2 separate regions of the Homo sapiens genome follow, and region 2 is linked to region 1. The links are contacts of gene promoters, found by promoter capture Hi-C in human tissues and cell types (Jung and others, 2019). All regions are on one chromosome and are shown on one strand. The core of a region is centred on a gene start or on the middle of the fragment in contact, and the rest is flanking DNA. Distances in the headings are between cores, read along the strand shown. Region 1 holds the start of ICAM5 (intercellular adhesion molecule 5). Region 2 has its middle 12 kb from the start of SLC44A2.

Region 1 (3,865 bases), core at 1,366-3,865:
TCCCTCGCGCACTGCCTCGTGACCTGCGCAGGAAAAACACGCTGGGCCACCTCCAGGATCACCGCCTACAGTGAGGGACAGGGGCTCGGTCCCGGCTGGGGTGAGGGGAGGGGGCTGGAAGAGGTGGGGGAAGGGTAGTTGACAGTCGCTCTATAGGGAGCGCCCGCGGACCTCACTCAGAGGCTCCCCCTTGCCTTAGAACCGCCCCACAGCGTGATTTTGGAGCCTCCGGTCTTAAAGGGCAGGAAATACACTTTGCGCTGCCACGTGACGCAGGTGTTCCCGGTGGGCTACTTGGTGGTGACCCTGAGGCATGGAAGCCGGGTCATCTATTCCGAAAGCCTGGAGCGCTTCACCGGCCTGGATCTGGCCAACGTGACCTTGACCTACGAGTTTGCTGCTGGACCCCGCGACTTCTGGCAGCCCGTGATCTGCCACGCGCGCCTCAATCTCGACGGCCTGGTGGTCCGCAACAGCTCGGCACCCATTACACTGATGCTCGGTGAGGCACCCCTGTAACCCTGGGGACTAGGAGGAAGGGGGCAGAGAGAGTTATGACCCCGAGAGGGCGCACAGACCAAGCGTGAGCTCCACGCGGGTCGACAGACCTCCCTGTGTTCCGTTCCTAATTCTCGCCTTCTGCTCCCAGCTTGGAGCCCCGCGCCCACAGCTTTGGCCTCCGGTTCCATCGCTGCCCTTGTAGGGATCCTCCTCACTGTGGGCGCTGCGTACCTATGCAAGTGCCTAGCTATGAAGTCCCAGGCGTAAAGGGGGATGTTCTATGCCGGCTGAGCGAGAAAAAGAGGAATATGAAACAATCTGGGGAAATGGCCATACATGGTGGCTGACGCCTGTAATCCCAGCACTTTGGGAGGCCGAGGCAGGAGAATCGCTTGAGCCCAGGAGTTCGAGACCAGCCTGGACAACATAGTGAGACCCCGTCTATGCAAAAAATACACAAATTAGCCTGGTGTGGTGGCCCGCACCTGTGGTCCCAGCTACCCGGGAGGCTGAGTTGGGAGGATCCTTTGAGCCCTGAAAGTCGAGGTTGCAGTGAGCCTTGATCGTGCCACTGCACTCCAGCCTGGGGGACAGAGCACGACCCTGTCTCCAAAAATAAAATAAAAATAAAAATAAATATTGGCGGGGGAACCCTCTGGAATCAATAAAGGCTTCCTTAACCAGCCTCTGTCCTGTGACCTAAGGGTCCGCATTACTGCCCTTCTTCGGAGGAACTGGTTTGTTTTTGTTGTTGTTGTTGTTTTTGCGATCACTTTCTCCAAGTTCCTTGTCTCCCTGAGGGCACCTGAGGTTTCCTCACTCAGGGCCCACCTGGGGTCCCGAAGCCCCAGACTCTGTGTATCCCCAGCGGGTGTCACAGAAACCTCTCCTTCTGCTGGCCTTATCGAGTGGGATCAGCGCGGGCCGGGGAGAGCCACGGGCAGGGGCGGGGTGGGGTTCATGGTATGGCTTTCCTGATTGGCGCCGCCGCCACCACGCGGCAGCTCTGATTGGATGTTAAGTTTCCTATCCCAGCCCCACCTTCAGACCCTGTGCTTTCCTGGAGGCCAAACAACTGTGGAGCGAGAACTCATCTCCAAAATAACTTACCACGCTGGAGTGAGACCACGAATGGTGGGGAGGGGAGGGTCCCACGGACATATTGAGGGACGTGGATACGCAGAAGAGGTATCCATGTGGTGGCAGCCGGGAAGGGGTGATCAGATGGTCCACAGGGAATATCACAAACTCGAATTCTGACGATGTTCTGGTAGTCACCCAGCCAGATGAGCGCATGGAGTTGGGGGTGGGGGGTGTCAAAGCTTGGGGCCCGGAAGCGGAGTCAAAAGCATCACCCTCGGTCCCTTGTTCTCGCGTGGATGTCAGGGCCCCCACCCACCGAGCAGAAGGCGGACTCAGGGGCGCTCCAGGGTGGCTCGAGCTCACACACGCTGAGTAGACACGTGCCCGCTGCACCCTGGGTAAATACAGACCCGGAGCCGAGCGGATTCTAATTTAGACGCCCGCGAACGCTGCGCGCACGCACACGTGTCCTCGGCTCGCTGGCACTTTCGTCCCGCCCCCTCCGTCGCGTGCGGGAGCTGACCCGGAGGGGTGCTTAGAGGTATGGCTCCGCGGGGTCAAAAGGAGAAGGATCAGTGAGAGAGGCATCCCCACACCCTCCCCTAGAACTGTCCTTTCCCCATCCAGTGCCTCCCAAATCTCTCTTAGTCCCCAAATGTATCCCCGCCCTAAGGGGCGCTGGTGGGAGGAGCTAAATGTGGGGGCGGGGCTCGGAGTCCAGCTTATTATCATGGCATCTCAGCCAGGGCTGGGGTAGGGGTTTGGGAAGGGCAACCCAGCATCCCCCGATCCCAGAGTCGCGGCCGGGGATGACGCGAGAGAGCGTGGTCGCCCCCAGAAGGCCCTGGGCCATCATGCCGGCCTCCACGTAGACCCCAGGGGTCGCTCACTCCTGCCAGCTCGCCTTCACCAAGGCCAGGAGCTTAGCGCACGCTCGCCTCCCGCCCCCCCGCCGCCTCTGCCGCCGCCCCCTCCTTGGAAACCAAGTTACCAACGTTAAACCAATCCCCAAGCGCAACTCTGCCTCCCCCACACCCCACCCGCCGCGCCGCGCGGAGCCGTCCTCTAGCCCAGCTCCTCGGCTCGCGCTCTCCTCGCCTCCTGTGCTTTCCCCGCCGCGGCGATGCCAGGGCCTTCGCCAGGGCTGCGCCGGGCGCTACTCGGCCTCTGGGCTGCTCTGGGCCTGGGGCTCTTCGGCCTCTCAGGTAAGAGCCCCGCTCTGGTTCGGGGTGGACAGGGCGGGGGCGGAGTCCCTGGACCTGAGAAACGGCCTCCTGTCCCTCCCAGCTCTGCCCTCGCCTCGCTCCCACGCCTCTGCCCCCACCTCGAGCCTGAGTCTTCTCCCCTTCCCCCTCCTCCCCAACACACACCCGAGCCCCAGCTTCCTGACTCCTCGATAGCCCCTACCCGCTTCGAGATCCTAGGTGTTCTTCCGCACCCAACCCTTCGCCCTGGAGACCCAGTGTCTCTCCTGTCCGCTCCCCGGGTACCTCCTTACGCTGTGCTGTGCACCATGGTCCACGGACTGGCATCTTCCCCACTCGCGGTCCGCGAAGACTCCATCTCTCCAACTACCCTGACTCAGAGGCGCTGTTCCCGCTCCACCCAGAGCCCTGGCAACCGGGTCCCTCAGCTGTTCCCGCGGTTCCTTCCATGAGCCCAGCCTTGCGTCCCGGCTCCGTGTTCTTCACCGGGTGTAGGGTCCTTCCTGATCCTTGACCCAGCCTCGTCTCTCCTTTGCCCTTGCCGCAAACGCACTCTCCTCGTATCCCGGCATTCTGCCAGGACCCTGAGAACTGGTTCATCCCCCATCCCCCATCCCGGGTCCCCTTCTCTCAGCCTTGCTGTGTTCATCCAAGAACCCACCTTTCCTCTCCTCTACGCCCTCCCCCCATGCTTTCCCGCCGCTCCATCGGCGCTTTGGAGACCATGGCTCTCTGCTACCACGTCCCAGAGACACCCTCGAGGTTTAGACTCTGGGAGTGCGCCTTTAAACCGGAGGCCTGGGCAGGACGCGGGACGCCTGGGTTCTTTCCCTGGCTGCAGCCTCTCCTCCTCCTCCCCGCCCTCTGAGAACCCTTGACTCGACATAGGGGCGCTAAGATGTCAGGGAGTTGGCTCCCCAGGCTCAGCCCGCGTTTCCCTGGGCAGCGGTCTCGCAGGAGCCCTTCTGGGCGGACCTGCAGCCTCGCGTGGCGTTCGTGGAGCGCGGGGGCTCGCTGTGGCTGAATTGCAGCACCAACTGCCCTCGGCCGGAGCGCGGTGGCCTGGAGACCTCGCT
Region 2 (4,172 bases), core at 896-3,395, 320 kb after region 1:
AAATTTTTTTTGAGAGGGAGTCTTATGATGTTCCCCAGGCTGGTTGAATTCCCCGGCTGAAGCGATCCTTCCCCTTCAACCTCCTAAGTAGGGGACTATAGGCATGTGCCTCTGTGCCGGGCTAGAGAGCATTATTTTAAAATATTATTTTAGGCTGCGTGCAGTGCCTCACGCCTGTAATCCCAGCACTTTGTGAGGCCCAGGCGGGTAGGTCACTTGAGGTCAGGAGTTCGAGACCAGCCTGACCAAGATGGTGAAACCCCATCTCTGCTAACACTACAAAATTTAGCCAGGCGTGGTGGCAGGTACCTGTAATCTCAGCTACTCAGGGGGCTGAGGCAGGAGAATTGCTTGAACCTGGGCAGCAGAGGTTGCAGTTAGCCAAGATTGCGCCACTGCACTCCAGCCTGGGCAAGAGAGTGAGACACTATTTCAAAAAATAATAAATAAATAAATAAACAAACAAGAGACCCGGTGCAGTGGTTCACTCCTGTAATCCCAGCTGTTTGTGAGGCCAAGGTGGGTGGATCGTGGTTCACTCCTATAATCCCAGCTGTTTGTGAGGCCAAGGTGGGTGGATCGCTTGAGTCCAGGAGTTTGAGACTAGCCTGGGCAACATTGCAAAACCCCTTCTTCCCAAAAATATGCAAAAAAATTAGCTGGTCATGGTGGCTTATGCCTGTGGTCCGAGCCACTCTGGAGGGTGAGGTGGGAGGATTGCTTGAGCCTAGGAGGCAGAGGTTGCAGTGAGCCGACATTGTGCCACTGCACTCCAACCTAGGTAACAGAATGAGACCCCATCTCAAATATACAAGTAAACAAATAAACTCTTACATAATAAAATTAATAAATTCCCTCTGTTCTGGCAGGGGGACTAAAAGCTAATTATAAGTAAGTCCTCAAGTCCATGGAAGATTTTAGCTTTCCATGTGAAAGAATCTTCTACAAATCTTTGGCTAGCTGTTTTCACCTCAGAGGTAGCTCAGCCAAGAAGTCTCCTTCCAGATTGTGACCTATTAATTTCTGTGTGTGTGTGGCATCTGGATCTTTTTAAAGCTTCTTAGGCTGAGCCGGGTGTGGTGGCTCACTCCTATAATCCCAGCACTTTGGGATGCCAGGGCGGAAGGATCACTTGAGCCCAGGAATTTTATACCAGCCTGGGCAACATAGTGAGACCCTGTTTCTGCAAAACAAAAAATTAAAAATTAGCGGGGCGTGGTGGTGCATGCCTGTGGTCCCATCCACTAGGGAGTCTGAGGCGGGAGGATCACTTGAGCCCAGGAGGTCAAGGCTGCAGTGAGCTATGATTGCGCCCCTGCACTTCATCCTGGGCAAAAAAGGAGACCCTGTCTCAAAAAATAAAAAATAAAAAAAGGTTAAATGTTTCTAGAAGCAAATCTCTGGTTTGGTGCCTAACATAGTCCAGCATACAGTAGGCGCTCTATCTTTTGCCCTTAACCCTTCTGAGCCTCCCCACCCAGATGCTGTCCTCAAACCCTTTGTCAAAAGAGGTGTCTGGGCAGCTGGCGATGCTCATTCCCCAGGCACAGACTTCTGGGAAGGCAGAGGCCAGTGGCTGGCTGTACGGGTGAGGCCTTGGGCCGCTGCAGCCCTTGGGGACTTGGCCAGTGTCCGGAAGCTGTGGGGGCTGGGTGGCATTTGATGTCCTGGCACCAGCACTGTGACTGGGCAGGCTGTGGCAGTTCTCTTATCGCCCACGCCCACTGCACTTGGGTGGGTCAGCCGTCACAGCCAGCAAGGCTGGCACCCGAAGGCTGCCTCTCCCAATCCTGGCCTTGTCCAACAGCTCAATTTTCCCAATTTTTCTTCCACACCATTGCCGCAACGTTATCTCTGCTTCTCCCAGTACCTGCCAAGGAAAAGGCCTGGGTTGGCTCCAGCAGGGCGTTGGTTTGACTCCTGGCTGTGCTCCTCACCAGCTGTGTGGCCCGAGCAAGCAACCTCAGTGTGCCCGTCGTGAAATGGGATCACACTAATGGTTAGTGGGGATTGGAGAAGTTTTTGTTTTGTTATTTTTATTTGTTTGGTTTTGGTTTTTTAGAGACAGTGTTTTCTGTCATCCAGGCTGGAGTGCAGTGGCGTGATCACAGCTCACTGCAGCCTCTGCCTCCCGGGCTCAAGCGATTCTCCCACCTCAGCCTCCTGAGTAGCTGGGACCACAGGCATGCACCACCACACCCAGATAATATAGTTATTTTTTACTTTTTATTTTCTTTCTTTTTTTTTTTTGAGATGGAGTCTTGCTCTGTCACCCAGGCTAGAGTGCAGTGGCGCAATCTTGGCTTGCCACAACCTCTGCCTCCTGGGTTCAAGTGATTCTCCTGCCTCAGCCTCCCGAGTAGCTGGGACTACAGGCGCCCACCACTATGCCCGGCTAATTTTTTGTATTTTTAGTAGACATGGGGTTTCACCACGTTGGACAGGCTGGTCTCAAACTCCTGACCTCAAGTAATCTGCCTGCCTTGACTTCCCAAAGTGCTGGGATTACAGGTGTAAGCCACTGCGCCTGGCCAAGTTGAAGACTTTGGCTGGGTGTAGTGGCTCATGCCTGTAGTTCAAGCACTTTGGGAGGCTAAGGCAGGAGGACTGCTTGAACCCAGGACTTTGAGACCAGCCTGGGCAACATAGTGAGACCCCGTCTCTTTAAGAAAAATGGAAGAGGGTGGTAGCAGAGTCAGAGGAGGACATGGAACGACGGAAGCGAGGTGGGTTTGATGTGATTGCTGTCTTTAAAAATGGAAGAAGTGGCCAGGAGCCAAGGAATGTGGGCGGCCTCTAGAAGGTGAAACAGACAAGGAAACAGATTTTCCCCTAAAATCTCCGAAAGAAACAGCCCTGCCTACACATCGATTGTAGCCCAGTGAGATGCATTTTGTGCTTCTGTCCTCCTGAGCTGTGAGATAATAAATTTGTGGTTTTTATTTATTATTATTATTATTATTTTTGAGACGAGTTTTGCTCTTGTTGCCCAGGCTGGAGTGCAGTGATGCGATCTTGGCTCACTGCAACCTCTGCTTCCTGGTTTCAAGCAATTCTACTGCCTCAGCCTCCTGAGTAGCTGGAATTACAGGTGCACACCACCACGCCCAGCTAATTTTTTGTATTTTTAGTAGAGATGGGGTTTCACCACGTTGGCCACGCTGGTCTGAAGCTCCTGACCTCAGGTGATCCACCTGCCTCGGCCTCCCAAAGTGCAGGGATTACAGGCATGAGCCACCGCACCCGTCCATAAATTTGTGTTTTTTTAAGCCACCAAGGCATTGGTGTCTTGTTACAGCAACGAAAGGAAATAATGCATTTGACCCTCAAACCACATGGGTGTGAGGGGCACCAACCCCCTGTGAAATTAGAAATCTGTGTATGCCTTAAGTTTTTGTAGAGACAGGGTTGTGATCTGTTGATCAGGCTGGTCTCCAACTCCTGGCCTCAAGAGATCCTCCCACCTCAGCCTCCCAAAATGCTGGGATTGCAGGCATGAGTCACCATGCCCGGCCTGCATATAACTGCATATAAGTCCCCCAAAACTTAATTAGTGATAGCCTACTGTTGACTCTTAGCCTTACGGACAACATATCAACATACACATATTGTGTCTCTGTATTATATATATCGTATTCTTACAATAAAGTAAGCTGAAGAAAAGAAAATGTGGCTGGGCGCGGTGGCTCACGCCGATAATCCCAGCACTTTGGGAGGCTGAGGCGGGCGGATCACCCGAGGTCAGGAGTTTGAGACCAACCTGGCCAACATGGTGAAACCACGTCTCTATTAAAAATACAAAAATTAGCCGGACATGGTGGTGCGTGCCTGTAATCCCAGGTACTTGGGAGGCTGAGGCAGGAGAATCTCTTGAACCCGGGAGGTAGAGGTCACAGTGAGCCAAGATTGCGCCACTGCACTCCAGCCTGGGTGACAGAATGAGACTCCGTCTCAAAAAAAAAAAAAAAAAAGAAGAAGAAAAGAAAAGAAAATGTTATTAAGTTGGTGCAAAAGTAATTGCGTTTTTTTTTTTTGCCATTCCTTTTAAGGGAAAAAATATTAAAATGTAAGGAAAAGAAAATACATTTATTATTTATTAAGTGGAAGTGGATCATCAAAAAGGTTTTCAGAGGCTGGGCGTGGTGGCTCACACCTGTAATCATAGCACTTTG

What was found. The method cuts DNA at HindIII sites, captures the fragments that hold promoters and counts their contacts. A contact is called where the count stands out against the background at its distance.
Region 2: a fragment that was not itself captured here is called in contact with the fragment with the promoter of ICAM5 in region 1 in 1 of the 25 tissues and cell types used here (liver).

The regions. Positions count from the first base shown.
Region 1 is chr19:10,287,337-10,291,201 of GRCh38, forward strand. ICAM5 (intercellular adhesion molecule 5) reads left to right here and starts at 2,616. Exons shown (of 11, transcript NM_003259.4): 1 at 2,616-2,789; 2 at 3,736-3,865. The coding sequence starts at 2,708. ICAM4-AS1 (ICAM4 antisense RNA 1) reads right to left here and starts at 1,683. Exons shown (of 1, transcript NR_186335.1): 1 at 1-1,683. It overlaps ICAM4 (intercellular adhesion molecule 4 (Landsteiner-Wiener blood group)), which reads left to right. Exons shown (of 3, transcript NM_001544.5): 1 at 1-70; 2 at 200-502; 3 at 650-1,184. The coding sequence ends at 768. RefSeq lists an enhancer at 1-260 and a silencer at 1,471-1,540. The HindIII fragment of the contact is 10,372 bases long and covers 545-3,865 here.
Region 2 is chr19:10,611,018-10,615,189 of GRCh38, forward strand. It overlaps a transcript of SLC44A2 not described here. Among named protein-coding and RNA genes, the nearest start is that of SLC44A2, 12 kb to the right of the region's middle. The HindIII fragment of the contact is 8,359 bases long and covers 1-4,172 here.